Regions from separate parts of the Homo sapiens genome. Here all the other regions are linked to region 2. Evidence: promoter capture Hi-C in 16 types of primary human blood cells and fetal thymus (Javierre and others, 2016). All regions are on one chromosome and are shown on one strand. Each heading gives the region's core, a stretch centred on a gene start or on the middle of the fragment in contact. The rest is flanking DNA. Distances are from core to core; before and after follow the strand shown.

Evidence for each region. The method cuts DNA at HindIII sites, captures the fragments that hold promoters and counts their contacts. A CHiCAGO score of 5 or more calls a contact.
Region 1: a fragment that was not itself captured here is called in contact with the fragment with the promoter of MCM6 in region 2 in 2 of 17 cell types (monocytes and erythroblasts); the score reaches 6.9 in monocytes.
Region 3: a contact is called between a fragment that was not itself captured here and the fragment with the promoter of MCM6 in region 2, in 5 of 17 cell types (erythroblasts, naive CD8 T cells, naive CD4 T cells and 2 more). The highest score is 9.9, in erythroblasts.
Region 4: a fragment that was not itself captured here is called in contact with the fragment with the promoter of MCM6 in region 2 in 11 of 17 cell types (neutrophils, activated CD4 T cells, naive CD8 T cells and 8 more); the score reaches 11.6 in neutrophils.
Region 5: a contact is called between a fragment that was not itself captured here and the fragment with the promoter of MCM6 in region 2, in 3 of 17 cell types (monocytes, total B cells and total CD8 T cells). The highest score is 6.8, in monocytes.

The regions. Positions count from the first base shown.
Region 1 is chr2:134,991,177-134,994,488 of GRCh38, reverse strand. It overlaps MAP3K19 (mitogen-activated protein kinase kinase kinase 19), which reads left to right. Exons shown (of 13, transcript NM_025052.5): 9 at 2,909-2,952. Among named protein-coding and RNA genes, the nearest start is that of MAP3K19, 55 kb to the left of the region's middle. The HindIII fragment of the contact is 2,696 bases long and covers 416-3,111 here.
Region 2 is chr2:135,874,143-135,877,740 of GRCh38, reverse strand. MCM6 (minichromosome maintenance complex component 6) reads left to right here and starts at 1,298. Exons shown (of 17, transcript NM_005915.6): 1 at 1,298-1,482. The coding sequence starts at 1,376. RefSeq lists enhancers at 1,024-1,083, 1,774-1,903, 1,673-2,208 and a silencer at 1,544-1,703. The HindIII fragment of the contact is 12,304 bases long and covers 1-3,598 here.
Region 3 is chr2:134,937,524-134,941,035 of GRCh38, reverse strand. It overlaps CCNT2 (cyclin T2), which reads right to left. Exons shown (of 9, transcript NM_058241.3): 4 at 1,974-2,034. Among named protein-coding and RNA genes, the nearest start is that of CCNT2, 20 kb to the right of the region's middle. The HindIII fragment of the contact is 3,014 bases long and covers 5-3,018 here.
Region 4 is chr2:136,404,269-136,407,690 of GRCh38, reverse strand. No RefSeq gene overlaps it. Among named protein-coding and RNA genes, the nearest start is that of CXCR4, 290 kb to the right of the region's middle. The HindIII fragment of the contact is 3,476 bases long and covers 294-3,422 here.
Region 5 is chr2:136,424,912-136,428,191 of GRCh38, reverse strand. No RefSeq gene overlaps it. Among named protein-coding and RNA genes, the nearest start is that of CXCR4, 310 kb to the right of the region's middle. The HindIII fragment of the contact is 8,463 bases long and covers 1-3,280 here.

The DNA of each region.
Region 1 (3,312 bases), core at 514-3,013, 880 kb after region 2:
TGTTTCAAGCCCTCCAGGGAGTAAACTTCCAGCCAACTGCCAGGAAAGGAGAAGAGTAACTCCTCATAGGGGACAGGGCAGGGAATCCAGTACTTATTCCAGCACAGACTTATGAGCACCCTCTCGTTTCAGTCTTGCCTGCATCCCTGTCTTCAGAGGTACCTTCAGTTCCCATTCCTTTCTGAAATTCTTATTTCTGGTTGGGCTGTCCCCTTGCAAGCATTGGGCAGAACACAGAAAGCTGACAACTCAATCAGTTATTATTCGTCCATATAGTTTTCTCTGTCCAAAATGTTGATATTGCTCATCTGTTGTTTTATCATTTGGGTGTTTTTATTTTTTGTCCTTATTTACATGTTTTTTAATTCTTTTACTGTGATTTTAGTGTGATTTGTGGAGGGATTGGAGAAAAGCTTGTACATTCAATCTGCCATTTTTAATTGGAACTCTGTACTTATTTTATTTTATTTACTTTTTTGGAGATAGGGTCTCGCTCTGTTGCCCATGCTGGAGTGCAGTGGTGCAAACATGGCTCGCTGCAGCCTCAATATTCCAGGCTTAAGTGATCCTCCACCACAGCCTCCTGAGTAGCTGGGAGTACAGGTGCATGGCACCACACCTGGCTACTTTTAACATTTTTTGTAGAGATGGGGTCTCGCTATGTTGCTCAGAGTGGTCTCTACACATTTTTAAAAGGCTTTGACACATGTTACCAAATTACCTACCAGAAAGATCTTGCCTCTACATTCCCACCAAAAGTCTTTACCCCACATAATTCCTGACCAATACTGGATAATACATATTCAAATATTTATAAGAATACTTGAAAGCGTTTTTTTAAAAAATTCAGGATGCTATCCATTATGTACCCAACTATAAATTATATTCAGTTGTATTTCTAGATTAACTTCTAACATCTTTTCAATAGAAAACCTCAACCTCTAGAATGCAACCTCTGGGAGCAAAGAGCAAAGATCTGTCTTTCCTGCCCACAACTATAAATTGCCATCTTCTGGGACAGTGTTGGCCACTCAGCAGGCACTCAGTAAATAATTGTTGAGTAAATGCATTAAGAATGAAGGGGAGGTGCCATGGCCAGCTGTGTCCAAGGGGAATGCCTGTGCCCCCTCCTGTTGCCTGTTGGGGTCCTCTTCTTAGGTGACTTGTTTTTCACCTGGGATTGGCTTTTCTACTGTGTTAAATCTTAGAAGTCTTTTTCTCTCCGTGTGAAACTTCAGAATGACAGCCTGAGGCTGAAATGGACCTACAGACATTTGTTTGACCCTCACAACATTGAAAAACAAGGGAGGAGAGGCCAGGCCCAGTGGCTCACACCTGGAATCCCAGAACTTTGGGAAGCCAAGAAGGGAGGATTGTTTGAGCCTAGGAGTTTGAGACCAGCCTGGGCAATACAGTAAGACCCTGTCTATACAAAAAATTAAAAATATAAAAATTTTAAATAAATAAGCAAGGGTGGGGGAAGGAGATTTCACATAAAACCTGCAGCTTGGGTTGGGCGCGGTGGCTCACACCTGTAATCCCAGCACTTTGGGAGGCCGAGGCCGGTGGATCACGAGGTCAAGTGTTCGAGACCAGCCTAGCCAACATAGTGAAACCCCGTGTCTACTAAAAAATAAAAAATACACAAAAAATTAGCCGGGCATGATGGCAGGTGCCTGTAATCCCAGCTTCTCGGGAGGCTGAGGCAGGAGAATTGCTTGAACCCAGGAGGTGGAGGTTGCAGCGAGCTGAGATCATGCCACTATACTCCAGCCTGGGCGACAGAGCGAGACCCTGTCTCAAAAAAAAAAAATCTGCAGCTCTCTGGCTTCTTTTGGAAGATGTAGCAGGGCTGGACTATCTATCTGGGTTGGATAACATCACTGCGAGCTGGGTAATGATGCCCCTTTAGTTGGGCATATGATCTCGATTTACTGCTGTGTCTTCCTGTCCCACATCATCCATTTCTGTGAACTGTTTTGACCCTGGAGACACTGGAGCTTTTGGCTTCAGCTTTAGAAAGTCCAAACTATGCAGAAGTGGTGGTGGTGGTGGTTCATGGGGTTTTGGGGATCATTCTGACTTTTTGGTAAGAAGAGAACAACTTGTAAGTTTTATACTACCTAGTAAGTCCCATCTCGTTCCCTAGGTGAGTCTTCCTCACACTCACCTTTCAGAGTTTATGGTCGATCTAGTTTAAACAACTGTTGGGAGACACTTATACAAGAATATTTTCACATTTCTGCACAGTTCAGGCTTTCTAAGCAAAAAACACTAGGAAACTAAGTTAAAAGATGACTGAATGTCAGAAACGCCTCCGAAGTTAGTGTATTGCTCCAGAGAAATTTAGAGGCTGATTTTCCCAAAAGCTGTTTGCTTATATTCTAGGGTAATAAAACATAGAGTCATCTTTCTCCTGGAGGCATTTGCTTACAATTCATAGTAAAGTGCTCTCTCCTTCTCTGGAGGGAAAGATGGGCTAAAGTGCCACCACCCAATATACCACCTGAGTCTCATCATTCCAGAGCTCCCTCCTGTGATGCAGCTCTGCCAGCTGTGCAGGTCAACACCCGGCTCTCATCACGTTGCCCTGTGAGGAACTGGGTTGTGGGGAACTGGCATTACAATGTTCTGTGAGTGATAAATGGTCTGCTCTCTGGTCCAGAGATCTCAGGTTTTCTGTCAGAATAGAGATATAAATATAAAACAGCAACCCCTGCTAGTGGCAGCAGCCTGAAGTTTTGTGTGATGATTCCACCTCTGTGTGAATTCCACAGGGGAAACCTCCAATTTCTACAACTTTTCCTCAGACCCCTTAGCATCTGTATTACTCCATCCCCAGACTCTGGCTTGAGACTGTTTTCTTTCTACTACTAAGAATATCCAGTTATTGTTTTTCTTGTTGTAGAGTTTTCGACCTCTCATATGAAGTACAGTGGCCGAAGCATCAAGGTAAGATTAGTGCTAGCATTTTTGACTTGAGAATTAAAACCAAACAACTCTATTCACTAATTTAGAACCAAATCCTCAGCAATTACACTTGACCCTTCAACAATGCAGGGGGTAGGGTCACTGATGTCCCCAACACAGTCAAAAATCCACACATAAGCTTTGATTCCCCCAAAACTTAGCTACTAATAGCCTACCGGTTGTTTTGTTTTGTTTTGTTTTGTTTTGTTTTGTTTTTTGAGACAGAGTCTCACTCTGTCACCCAGGCTAGAGTGCAGTGGTGCAATCTCGGCTCACTGCAAGCTCCGCCTCCCGGGTTCACGCCATTCTCCTGCCTCAGCCTCCCGAGTAGCTGGGACTACA
Region 2 (3,598 bases), core at 49-2,548:
AGGCGCCTACAAAGGATGCTAATCAGGAATGGCCAAAGAGATGGCAGAAAAACCAAGTGAAATGGTTAGGGAAAGATGGGGGAAAAAAACATAAGGATAACTCAAGCCAATAGTGCATTTTAAGAAGGGTATTAAGGCCGGGCGCTGTGGCTCACGGCCGTAATCCCAGCGCTTTGGGAGGTCGAGGCAGACGGATCACCTGAGGTCAGGAGTTTGAGAGCAGCCTGGCCAACATGGCGAAAACCCTGTCTCTACTAAAAATACAAAAATTGGCTGGGCATGGTAGCGGGCGCCTACAATCCCAGCTATTCAGGAGGCTGAGGCAGGAGAATCCCCTGGACCCGGGAGCTGGAGGTTGCAGTGACCCGAGATCGCGCCACTGCTCTCGAGCCTGAGCGACTGGGTGAGACTTCATCTGAAAAAAAAAAGAAAAGAAAAAGAAAAAAAGATTAATCAAAGTGTCAAATATTTCTTTCTTTTTCTTTTTCTTTCTTTTTTTTTTTTTTTTTTTTGAGACGGAGTCACACTGTGTTGCCCAGGCTGGAGTGCAGTGACACGATCTCGGCCCACTGCAACCTCCTCCTCCCAGGTTCAAGCGATTCTCCTGCCTCGGCCACCCGAGTAGCTGGGATTACAGGCGTGCACCACCACGCCCGACTAATTTTTGTATTTTTAGGGGAGATGGGGTTTCTGCATGTTGGCCAGGGTGGTCTCGAACTCCTGACCTCAGGTGATCCACACGCCTCGGCCTCCCAAAGTGCTAGGATTACAGGTTGTGAGCCACCGCGCCCGGCCAATGTCAAATATTTCGCTGATTTTCCTCGGTCAGCACCACCACAATAATTGTGCCACCTTACCCATGCAAGGTTTAGACATCTCTTTGACTCTTTTACAGGGTTTTATACTGTGGTTTCCATTATTTCCTCTAACTAGACAGCAGAAGCGGCTTACTCATTTTTCTCTTCCATAGAGTCTTACTCCGATCGTTCAATTAATATCAGTGGAATGATTTAAAGAACATTTGAAAAACCACTCGGACAAAACCCTCAGATTCGAACTTGTTCCAGCAGCCAAAAATACCCGCGGGCCACGGCTACACTGCGCAGGCGCAAAGGCAGATGGGCTTTCTCCAGAAGGGCTTTGCATTTGGCGCGAAATCCCTTTCCGTGGGCTGGGGCTCTTGGAGAGGCGCCGTTCATTGGTCAGGTTTGGCGCGAAATCTCCAGCTCCTGTGTCACGATTGGTTCCGGCCGTGCAGGTCGGAAGAGGGGGCGGGGCGGAAGCGGCGGCGGCGCGCGCAAAGCTGCAGCGTCTGGAAAAAAGCGACTTGTGGCGGTCGAGCGTGGCGCAGGCGAATCCTCGGCACTAAGCAAATATGGACCTCGCGGCGGCAGCGGAGCCGGGCGCCGGCAGCCAGCACCTGGAGGTCCGCGACGAGGTGGCCGAGAAGTGCCAGAAACTGTTCCTGGACTTCTTGGAGGAGTAAGTCGGCGAGCGCCCCGGGCCTCGCCCGCCTCCGGAGCCTGCGGCGTCTGGGCCAGGCGGTGCCGTGTGGGCGGCGGGTGTTCCGGAACCTGGGGGTCGCGCGTCCGGGAAGCGCCTCCCCGCCCGCCCCCCAACTTTAGGCTCCGAGCCCGGCGGCCGCGAGGAGCCTGGGACAGGCTGGGTTTTTCTGGAGTAAAACCCATCTCGAGCCCTAAGACGCTCGTGCCCAGTGCTCAGCGCTTTGCTTCTGTCACTTGATGCTCACCACCCCGCGAGCCTGGTATTTGCACAGCCCTCGGTGACCGGCGCGGAAACCTGGGCTCGCTGAGTATAGTAACTGGGCCGCTGGGTGCGGCCAGGTCGAGTGGGAGGCCGAAGTGCCATTGAATCTCGTCGGTGCCCTGCTGGGCCACGCAGCCGGGAGCATGGTGCTGGGGGTTCGCAGGGCACGGGCCACCCTCGCCTCTTGTGCTGATGAAAGTTTCTGCGTCAACTGTGGTTTGAAAGCTGCTGGGGGGCGGAGCCCTGCCCTGCAGAGAGTAGCTCACCATATCCCTTCTTCTGGGTCCCTTGCTCCCCTTTCCCTCTGGCCTTCCTTTCCTTTCTCTACTCTTCTTTTTTTCTGTGCCTCTGGGCTCCTAGCTTCATAACCCCAACCTCCTCCCTGGCTTGCCTCACCCACCGGTTATTTTTCCTGGAGCAGATACACCACGGCCTCCAGGATGAAGGGTCAGCAGTTTGGAATGGCTTTTGAAGTTCTTTTTTAGTAAAATATACATAACAAAGTTGACCATTTTAGCCATTTTTAAGTGTAGAGTCCAGTGGCACTAAGTGCATTCACCTCGTTGTGCAGCCGTCACCACTCTCCCATCTCCAAACTTTTTTTTTTTTGAGGCGTAATTTAGCCCTTGTTGCCCAGGCCGGAGTGCAGTGTCACCATCTCAGCTCACCGCAACCTCCGTCTCCCGGGTTCAAGCTATTCTCCTGCCTCAGCCTCCCTACTAGCTGGAATTACAGGCATGCGCCACCACGCCCGGCTAATTTGGTATTTTAGTAGAGATGGGGTTTCTCCATGTTGGTCAGGCTGGTCTTGAACTCCCGACCTCAGGTGATCCCCCCGCCTGGGCTTCCCAAAGTGATTACAGGCGTGAGCCACCGTGTCCGGCTCCAAACTCTTTTCATCTTCCAAACTGACATTCTGTGCCCATTAAACACGAACTCTCCTCCGTTACCCTCTCCCTCAGCCACCGTCACCCACCACTCTGCTTCCTTTCATTATGAGTTTGACCACTCTAGGTACCTCATATAAGTGGAAGCGTGTAGTATTTGTCCTTTTGTGTCTGGCTTGTGTAACATAATGTCTACAAGGTTCCTCTGCGAGGTAGCATGTGTCAGAATTTCCTTACTTTTTAAGGCTAAATAACATTGTCTGTACACATTGAGTATCCCTTTTCTGAAACGCTTGGGACCAGAAGAGTTTGGGATCTTGGATTTTTTTTTCAGATTTGGAATGTTTACATTATACTTAACCAATTGCATCCCTAATTTGAAATGCTCCAGTGAAAATCATGTCAGCACTCAAAAAGTTTCAGATTTTGGACCATTTCATATTTTAAATTTTCAGATGAGGGCTGCTCAACCTGTATATATACTGCATTTTGCTTATCCATTCAGTGGACACAGGTTCATTCCACCTTTTGTCTATTGTGAATAATGAGGTTCATTCCACCTTTTGGCTATTGTGAATAATGCTGCCTTCTTAGGAAATTTTGGTATACTTAAAACCATAATTTAATTTCCATTTCACTACCTATGGCAATGTTATTGTCTGCCTGATAGTTCCTCCTTCAAAGCCCAGCTAAAAACTCACACCTTTGTGAAACCTTGTACACCTTTTTGAGAGGCACTAATCCTTTCTTCCTTAGGCTCCCAGGGTGCTGTTTGTTTTTCATTATCTCTGGCAGTGTAACACATTTACCTCCTAGCTACTTAGTCTGGAATTCAAATTCCATCCTCAACCCCACCTACCCACCACATCACATTACAAAGGTTTTTCAATAAACGTTTCATTTCAACAAATAATCTAAGTGCCTTGACTTTGCAGCTAGATGAT
Region 3 (3,512 bases), core at 262-2,761, 940 kb after region 2:
AGCTTCATTTTCAATATGAGATAAAGTGCAAGGTTTTTGTGCCTGCTGGTATAGCTGCAGCGATGACTTCACAAATGTCTTTTTCTTCTTTCACACTGAACCTTACACTGGATTCATTTATCTTGAAATGGGCAACTGTAGCTACAGACCTCAATCTACAGTACATATCAAACAATTCAACTTTTTTTTGTAACATCACAACTTTCATCTGCTTCTTGGGAGCACTTCTGGCATCACTAGAGGCACTTTGTATGGGTCCCATGGTATTAATCCAAGTTTCCAGTATCGCACTAAATACGGTAAAAATATGCCAGAACCTCTTTTACCGCAATATGTAATTTACTGGAGAGACAAACTGTTCAGAGATGACAGGTGTCACACAGCATTTTACGTGGATACTCATAACATGTGAGCTCACTGCAATAGCAACAGGAGGTGGCTACAAAATTATCACAGCAGTACAGTTACGTATTATTAAAATTAATTTTATGTACCTTTACATTTGTTTATTTACATTTTCTCTTAACTGCGAATAGAGCCACATATTGTCTGTTTGTGTGCCTAACTTTTTAAAATTTTTATCTTTTAAAAATAGATTTATGTATATTTTATGGCAGTAAATGATAAAATAGACTAATATCTATATATAGTTTATGCATTCATGACATATCCAATTTTTTCAATATTTCTAGGCTACAGCTCACCTACAAGTTTTTTCAAATTGTTGCAAATTCCCAATTTTCCAATATTATTTATTGAAAAAAATCCATGTAGACCCATGGAGTTCAAACCCGTGCTGTTTGAGGGTCAACTGCATATGTATTTCACACAAACTAGTTTTGTAACGAAGAGTCTGTCACAATGGGAAATTGTGACTGATTTATCGCACTTCTATTCAACATCTGGGAATGGAGTAATGAAATTAAAAAAATGACAAATTCACGATATGACTCAGATACTATTCCACCTCTACAGAATGGAGGTACAACAGGTAAAGGAACTTTTGCCCAAGTTTACAAAGCAAGTCAGAGGCCTACAGATTTTAACTTGGATCTCCCCAAAGCCCATGTTCTTCCTACCACATCCTAGTAGGTTCTTCCAGAACTAACATATGACTTTAGATAAGCCATCACTTTCTTAGGCCTCAATTTCAGTAAATTGAGTAAGGTGAATGGTGACAGTAAATGAACTTGCATACAAAGATATAACCTTTAGAAAAGGATGACCAACATTTAAATAATTACTATGTCACATTAAAAATCATATGATAGGCCGGGCGTGGTGACGCACACCTGTAATCCCAGCACTTTGGGAGGCCAAAGTGGGCAGATTCCCTGAGCTCAGGAGTTCATGTCCAGCCTGGGCAACACGGTGAAACCCCGTCTCTACTAAATTACAAAAAAATAACCAGGTGTGGCAGTATGCACCTGTAGTCCCAGCTACTCGGGAGGCTGAGGCAGGAGAATTGCTTGAACCCAGGAGGCAGAGGTTGCAGTGAGCCGAGATGGCACCACTGCACTCCAGCCTGGGCGACAGAGCGAGACTCCGTCTTAAAAATAAATAAATAAATAAATAAATAAAATAAAAAAGGTGATATACTCATAAAATACTGACTGGCAGCTCGAGGAGAATAAGGATTGCTGTGTAGGTTTGTATACATCATAATCATATAAAACAACCCTAAAGGACCATTTTACTCTCCAGTGCAAATCCAGAGTGAAGCACAGTACTTCAACTACCTGAAAACCTAAGAAATCATACTGAAGGGTACGTTTACCATTCAATTTAATTATGCCAAATGAAATTAAATTCTAGAAAAGTAATTTCCTTATAACCAGGCAACCTTATTCTGTCTAAAACCTGTTTTAAAATAACTTTCTTCAATAATACAATTATTTCAGAAATCTTTTCACTTATTTAGAATGCTTTAGTGAAATACACACAAAAAGCCATTATCTGATGTAAGTACGTACCTAGAGTTTGTAGCATTATGGTTTCAAGTATAACCAGTTCTTGAGTCTGTTGAAGGTAAGCCTGTCAGATAAAAATATTATCAAATTGATTAAAATAAAAATAACATTACTAGACTGCATGACTGTTACATCTTGTGAGAATTACAGGTTGATTACAAAAGAACCACAGTAGTTTGAAAATATGGAGAAAATAAACTGAGGGTGACAGAGAAAGCCTGTATTCTGTGGCAAGCCTAAACTGAATTACTTTCTGTAACAGGAAACAAACACCAGAAAACAAAAACCTAACCAATATGAAAGAGGGTAAGTTAATTGAAATAAGGAGATGTGCACAGTCTGTAAAGTGAAACAACCTAGGCACTGGTGCTTCAAGAGATATTAAAGACAGGAAGCACCAAGTCAATTAAAAACATCCAACTCAAACCTGCCTTTAACCCAAACCTGGCTTACAAACTCACTCTAGGACATTTCATGTGGTAATTCCTCAAAAGTCACAGTAAGTCACTGAGTAAATTTTAGAATTAACTTCCCTGCCACCTTAGAAATGACCAAACATACCAAAATAATGTATCTCATACCCACGGGGACATAAATACCAGAGAACCTCCTTATTCAATTTCAAGAAATTATCCCTCTATTACAGTTACTCTGGAAATAAAGGATATGAAAAATTACTGCTGTCCTATTCTGAAATCATGACAATTGACCAAAGTGATAAGGAAATACTATATTACTGATATGAATATACCTATATTCATTTTTGTAAGGACATATTTCTAAAGCCAGAGAGTAAAAGTACCTTTTATTTTATTTATGCTCTACTTTGAAAGGTCATTGAGCTGATTTTTAAAACAGTCAATTTCTATTATTTAAACAGTACCCCAAGAAATAGTTCTGAATTTGTACAGTTAATATAAACTGTAGGAATTATCTTTAAATAATGACAACCTATTATTTAATGGCTACATTAACAGTTTACTCCCTTAAAGCCAACATTATGATAAAACTTGCCATTAATAAAATCAGATATAGTTCCATTGAAGCTTAAATTAATCGGGACTTTGAATTAATATAATCTGTTAGTCATTCAATGGGTAAAGGTTCCTGATTAAGTAACTCAGGATGCTAGAAAAAAAAATTTTTTTTTTGAGACGGTGTTTCACTCTTGTTGCCTAGGCTAGAGTGCAATGGCACGATCTCAGCTCACCGCAACCTCTGCCTCCTGGGTTCAAGCGATTCTCCTGCCTCAGCCTCCCAAGTAGCTGGGATCACAGGCATGTGCCACCATGCCTGGCTAATTTTGTATTTTTAGTAGAGATGGGGTTTCTCCATATGATCAGGCTGGTCTCAAACTCCCGACCTCAGGTGATCCGCCTGCCTCGGCCTCCCAAAGTGCTGGGATTACAGGCATGAGCCACTGTGCCTGGCCGAAAATTTTTAAAGGGCCATAATTCTAACTTCCTTATTTCTCCTTATTTCTTAAGATGTCAGAAAAATTTAAAACAGTTCTTTCAAATAAGGTCTATTACAATGTTGATG
Region 4 (3,422 bases), core at 782-3,281, 530 kb before region 2:
ACAGGCAGGTCTGATCTGTCCCTGGGTGCCCAGACTGGTCCTGAAAGACCCAGGGAATGGGAGAGGAAGAGTCACTGTCTCCCCTTGGGCTGTCCTCCTGCCCCCACACCAGGGCTCAGCACTGGAGCCCAAAGAGAGACAAGGAGCCCTCACATCTTTTCAAGTGGGCACCAAGAAGCAACACCCATTCCCAATCCCAACACCTGCTTGAGTTCCCTGGAAACAAAATTGCCTGGAGAGGATTCTCTCACCGCCACAATCATTTTGCTAGCTCAAGCCACCACCAGAAAGCTTTCCCTTGGTGTCATGCTGTATTTTATGTTGCCTTTAAGTGTAGGTTTCTAAGAGAGGATAAACAGGTTAGTGAGCAGAACACCAAGGGGAAATATGGAGCAGAGTTGAGAGTCAGTGATAAAGAATAACGGAGCTCTATTATTAGTGAAGTCACTCTGCTTTTAAAAGGGGCTTGCACGTCTGGGCAGCCATTAAGTGCACTCAAAAACAGCTTGATGTGCTTGCTTTAAACCTGTTCATTTTTTTCTTCAACCACAGAAGCTGTTGTGCCAATATACCCGCTTCTTGAGGTTGTGAAGGCAATTTGTCTGCTTGCTGCCTTCCCTCGTGTCTGGGGGTAGCTGCAGCAGGCTGGCAAATGCTATGACACCAAGTCCCCATGCAGTGCCGGGGGCTAGAGCCCCTATAGTTGCCTCCCTTGTTCCCTGGAAATTGTCCTTTCAAATGCAGGCAGCTCCACTAGACGCTGGGGGACGTGCCATTGGAATCATGGGATTTTCTAGTGGGAAGGCAACTATGAAGCAGCAGATGATCTGGCAGACCCCCTTCGGAGGTGATGGAATGACAGAGTGGAGCAGTGATGGCACAGAGGCACAGATGAACAGAAGCAGAGCCGGACAGGAGCTCAGGGCTCCCACACCTGCCCCTGCACACTCTCTCAGCCATGTGCTGAGGGAGTCTGATTCTGCTCCCGTCCTTGTGACTTGCTTGGGAATCTCCATGTGTGCCCGTGGTTGGCTTCAGCAACCTTGGAGAGAACGATCCAGGGCTGGAAATAATTTCTTCATTGGGTTCACATTGCTTGAGGCTCTGCCCTCCACCAGAGATGAAGCTAAGTTCTGGGGACACAGAAGAGGGAACTCATAGTCTAGTGGGAACAGCAATCCACAAACCAAGAATCCCCCTATGATTGCCATGGCAAAAGAGGTGGACACTGGGGCCCTGGAAAGGAAGCAGTAGGCTGCTGTCTGAGCTGGAAAAGCCTCCCTGGAGGAGGTGATGTTTGTGCTAAGCCACAAACCCCTTCTCTGAGCAATAACCTATTCCCTGGTCTTCCTGGGCTGAGGGCACTAATCCCACTCAGGATTTCAGCACCTTCATACTCGCCCTTTGGTTGCTTGGGACCCAAAGCTCTGCCCTCCCGGGAAAGCCTTCTCATCCTTTCTCATCTTCTTCAAAATGTGCTTCCTGTTTTACTGGAAAACATTCTAAGACTAGATGGCGATGGTTGTACAACTCAATAAATGTACTCAAAATCATTGAATTGTACACTTGAGTGAACTGCACACTGTGTAAATGATACCTCAATAAAGCTGTTTTTAAAAACTTCCAAACATTTTTTATGTTGTAGCATACAAAAAAAAAAAGATAGCATTGGTATCATACCCTGGGTAAGCTAAAGGAAATTTAGAGTTTGGTGAAAAAAAAAAAAAAAAAAAAAAGATCATTATACTTTATATCATTATAAGAAAAGTAAAATGTAAAAGTTTCAGAAAGGTATTAAATTTTGAATTTATATAAAATTTCCAAATAAAATATTTTCAAATATTGAAGTGGATAAACTTGAATTTGTGTCCGTGAACATACTTTGTACAACCTCTCTGCAAGGTATAAGGTGCTCATTCTCTTGGGGGACACAGGTTGGAAATGGTTCCACGTAATCTTTGAACAACACTTCTTCATGGCTATCCCTTTAAATTCTTGGTGGTCTCCCTCAACAAGACACTTTACTCACACAAGGAGGTAATACAAATTTTTAAATCATTTTTATAACCTTCAAAAATCTACACTGAAATTACAATGAAATAATTCAATAACTCTTTTCTTTCATTGACAAATAAGGAATATTGACATTTTTGTGATCATGTAAACAGATTTCAAATTCAATCAAATTTCTCATCCCAAGTACTTCAACATAATGATAACATGTACATTTGCAAAATGTACATGAATTATTAGGATAGTCAGCCTACACAGAGCTGGCTTAGATGCCACTGAAAGGTATAGAAGCTACAAAAATACTTATCCAGGGCATGTGAAGACACTTGGAGTTAATGCCCACCAGGATACACTAAGCAGCCCACGCCTTGCACAACCTACCCTGCTCTCTGGACACCTGCAACGCTGGCTCCTCCAGCCACTTTCTAGGCCCTCATCCTCAGTGGGCAGTGGTGGTCCTACAGCCGCCTTCCTATGTGGATGTCCAGGAAATAGGGCAAGTGGTGGATGGGTTCAGAGCAGGACTGTGGGGCATGTCCGTGGACCCCACTCCATTCAGATGCCCTGAGAGACACCTGAGACCCCATCTATCACCCCAAGGGATGAGGAGATCCTGATCTTGGGGGCATAGGCTGAGCTGATGCCTGAGAACACCTCCTATGTTTGAACTCCCAGAAAACCTACCAGCATTTGCTAAGTCTTCAGCCACCCTGAGACAATAGTCACTTTGAGGGCTTGCAGGGAACTCCCTGGAGAGGGAATGTGCTGCTAGTGAGAGGAAAAGGGGGTTAAAAACACAAACTTGGAAAAATCTGTATTTAAGAAGTGGGTGGACAAGTACCAGCTTGGGGAGAAAATAGAAGGGGAGGAAAACCAAATGCTGAGCGATCACAGAAATCAAAGGCAGGAAGCAGTTGACCAAAAGAGGGAGTAAAGTCTTAGGAGGAGGAGAAGTGAGGCTGTGGGAAGTTGGTGGAACAGCGGGCATCTCAGAAGACAGAGGCTCAGGAAAGAGGTGTAAAGTGGGGAGTTGGGGGTGCAGCCTGGTAACCTCGAAAGTCACATGGCAAATGGAAGCATGGCTTTCTCATTTATTGGCTCAAGGGAAGGAGCTTATGAAGGGCACAGCTGCTGGTGTGGGGGAAAAGGGAGACTCAAGGACCTGGGAGGCATGAGTCAGGGATGCATAAAGAAAGGTCTTCCTAGGAAGGAAAGCATTGCTGTGCCTCTGACTTGGGAGAAAATGTTTTCCTGATGACAAAGAGGAGACTCAAGGAGCCAACAGCCACCATCTAATCAATTGGTGCAACAGATGGAGACAGCTGGTCCATGGCAATGTTCCTTCATTATTCATGTGCCAGCATTTTCTGGACAGCTGCTATGTGCCAGGCCCAGAGACAACTGAGACA
Region 5 (3,280 bases), core at 91-2,590, 550 kb before region 2:
CCAGCACTTTGGGAGGCCAAGGCGGGTGGATCACCTGAGGTCAGGAGTTCAAGACCAGCCTGGCCAACATGGCGAAACCCTGTCTCTACTAAAAATACAAAAAAGTTAGCCAGGCGTGGTGGCGCACGCCTGTAGTCCCAGCCACTCGGGAGGCTGAGGCGGAAGAATCACTTGAACCCAGAAGGCCAAGGTTGCGGTGAGCTGAGATGGCACCACTGCACTCCAGCCTGGGCACAGAGTGAGACTCAGTCTCAAAAAAAAAAGTGAGGAGTTCTGGGCCATTGATGAAAAACCACTTAACATTTCCAGGCCTTGATTTCTCATTTGTAAAATTAGAATAATATTTTCCTTACATCCTTTACAAGATTATAATGAGAAAAAGAAGGAGAAAACGGAATAAAAATTGCTAATGAAAGCACAAAGTTCTAAGAATATTTAAATAACACTAACTCTAATTAAATCAGAGTACACAGTCCATATTTAGGCATAGGAAAAAAGAAAGACTAGAAGGAAATACACCCAGTCAATTATCTCTGGCAGATAATGGTCGTTATCTCTAAATGGTAACATATGGGTGATTTTCATTTCCTCATTTCTTCCTTCCATATTTTTTGAATTGTTAAATAATAAACATAGTAGGGTGTTAAGCAGAAAAAATAGTCTAAAAGAAAAACATGTGGGTCAGTGAGATCCCACTTTCTCCTTTGGTTACATTGGTTGCCTTCTGGACATTTTATTGCTCTGTTTGTAAGTGTTACACTTAGAAGCTGGGTAAAATAAATAAAAGAAGGTCAGCTTCATACCAATCAATTTCTGTTGCATGTTAGCACTCCTTTGAAAGGATTTGATAGAAAGAGGCGGCTGAAGCCTCGTGGCTGGAATAAGGCTTAGACGGCATGTTTGCATTTCAACCATTCAGGCTGCCCCCACTCCCTGCTACTACAATTTAACTCTGCCATGTTGTTTCACCTCATTTGGGAACCACATATGAAGTTGTCGTGAAAATTACTTAATAGAAAAAATGTTCATAGATTCTCAGGTAAAGAGGTACAATGTAGAAGTTCCAGAGGTAAAGAGGTATGATGTAGAAGTGTTGTGCATATGTGATTTATAAAGTGGTATTGCATACCCAGACTCAATACATCAGCAATGGATTGGCTGCTGACCATAATGGTAACAAAAACATATACTTTTATGGGAACAAAACATATACTTCTATCACTGAACTAAATACTTCTTGAGTCCCTACAACGTGCTAAACAGAATGATGACAAAGACAGACTCAATCCCCTGGCACCTAACACAGTGTCTGAATATATAGAGGCTCCCAATCAACGATTGCTGAATGACTGTACGAGCCCCTTGTGCCTGAATGACTGTCCTCACAAATGTGGGCGGGACTGTCCCTGAAGAGACTGGAACCCCCAGTCACCCTAAGGAAAAGAGGCAGGTTATCAGGGGTGAGCTAGTTGTATGTCCCTTTCACCAACACCACTACCCCCCAAATAAGGGGGAAACTTTATCCCTTCAGAATCAAATTAAAATCAAAGATAAAGTAGAGGAATAAATGTCTCAAAAGCTAAACTGAGCATCACAGGCAGAATATTAGATGATCCTAAGGAATACTGTTCATTTTGTGGAGGGGGGAGTGATAATGTTGTTTTACACTTTTTAAAAAGTTTTTATATATTGAAGCATGTAAGAATGAAATAACATGAAGCCTAGTATTGTTTCTGAAGAATCTGGGAAGGAGGGTGGGCAGTGGCAAAATTAGGGATCTAGGACACAAAAGCTGTGGGATCAGCGAGACTGGCCACATGTTGGTTATGAGGGAGGCTGAGTGATAGGAGCAGGCAGGAATGCCAGTGGTTCCTACATTTGTCTGTGCATCAAAACCAGCCAGGGAGTGTCAAAGACACTGATACCTGTGTTCCACCCACAGAGACAGTGATTTACATGGTCTGGGAAAGCGACTCTGCTTTGGAATTTTTAAAAGATCCCCAAGTGATTCTAATATGCAGGAAACACTATTCTCTATACTTCTGAGTTTCAGTAAATTGCAGAACAAAAATGTCTTTTAATGTAACGGGGACAAAAGGGTAGTTAAGTAATAAGAGGAGGGTCAAGGGGCAGCCCCTGCCTCCCGCGTTGTCTGAGGATGAAGGGCTCGCTTGTCTCCCCTCTAAGTCCTTTGGTCCCAGCCTCCTCTGTCAGCAGCTGTCTCCCCATCTCTTGGTTTCTGACTCGGGGTACAGTCCACATTCAATGGCACAACCACATCAACCCACTGTCCTCTACAAATGGCACCACCCTCAAGCCCATAGAAGGACCCCTTGATTGTAGCTATTCCCCCTGACACTTCCAGTGAGCCTGGACTCCACAATGAAGCAATCTTTCCTCCCTCCCTCTTCTACTTTACCACCCTCACCCCATTCTCACTCCTCTCTTTCTTTTGTGACAGTGAATTATCCACTTTTGCCTCCCACTAGGAAGGTGAGACCAGGGCTTCCTAGCAGCCTCATGATTGAGTTTAATCATCCTTGGATGGAAGGATGTTTTTTTACCAACTCATTTCCAGCAGGACCTGCAAATCCCTCTCACCTGGTTTTCCAAAGACTCCCACAGGCAGACCCATCTTATGGGATAATGCTTTATTTTAACCAGAATGTCTCAATAATAGGTTCCATGTTCTCAGCTGTGCTCATGGTGAGGCTGTGATTTTCCTTCATGAAAATGCTATTATTACAGAACTACAGGGTCTCCATCCTCCCAAAAACAGTCTTCTATTATTCATGGGGAAATGGTGCTTTGGAGAGGGATTTGCATGTGGTTCTCTCAAGTGAGCCAAGCATGGCTGACAAAAAATGCCCTACAAACTGTAACTTCAGCAAGCCTCCCTGACATTCACCAAACACCTAGCTGTGTGGCCAGAAGTTCACTGCAAAGGTGAAAAGACCCCTGAAGTGAAAGAGAAGACCCAGTAAATGGAATCCTGACTACACCTATGGCTCCTTTATTCTTCTAAGCCACCTGTGAGGCCATCTGGGCCCTCAAGAAGTGAAGGGAAACAACAGGTATTAAGGACCCACTGTGTGCAGCTGCTCCGCACAGAAGCAAGGACTAAAAGTCAACAAGGGAAGCAGGTAGAGTTGGGTGTGCAATAGGGTGTGGTGGGGACTGCAGTCTATACACTGTAGAAAGGCAACCACTACATAGTTTCAGACCATTGTTTGATGTGGAAATACTGATTCGGTGTAGCCATGTCTATTTTTTTCCAGGG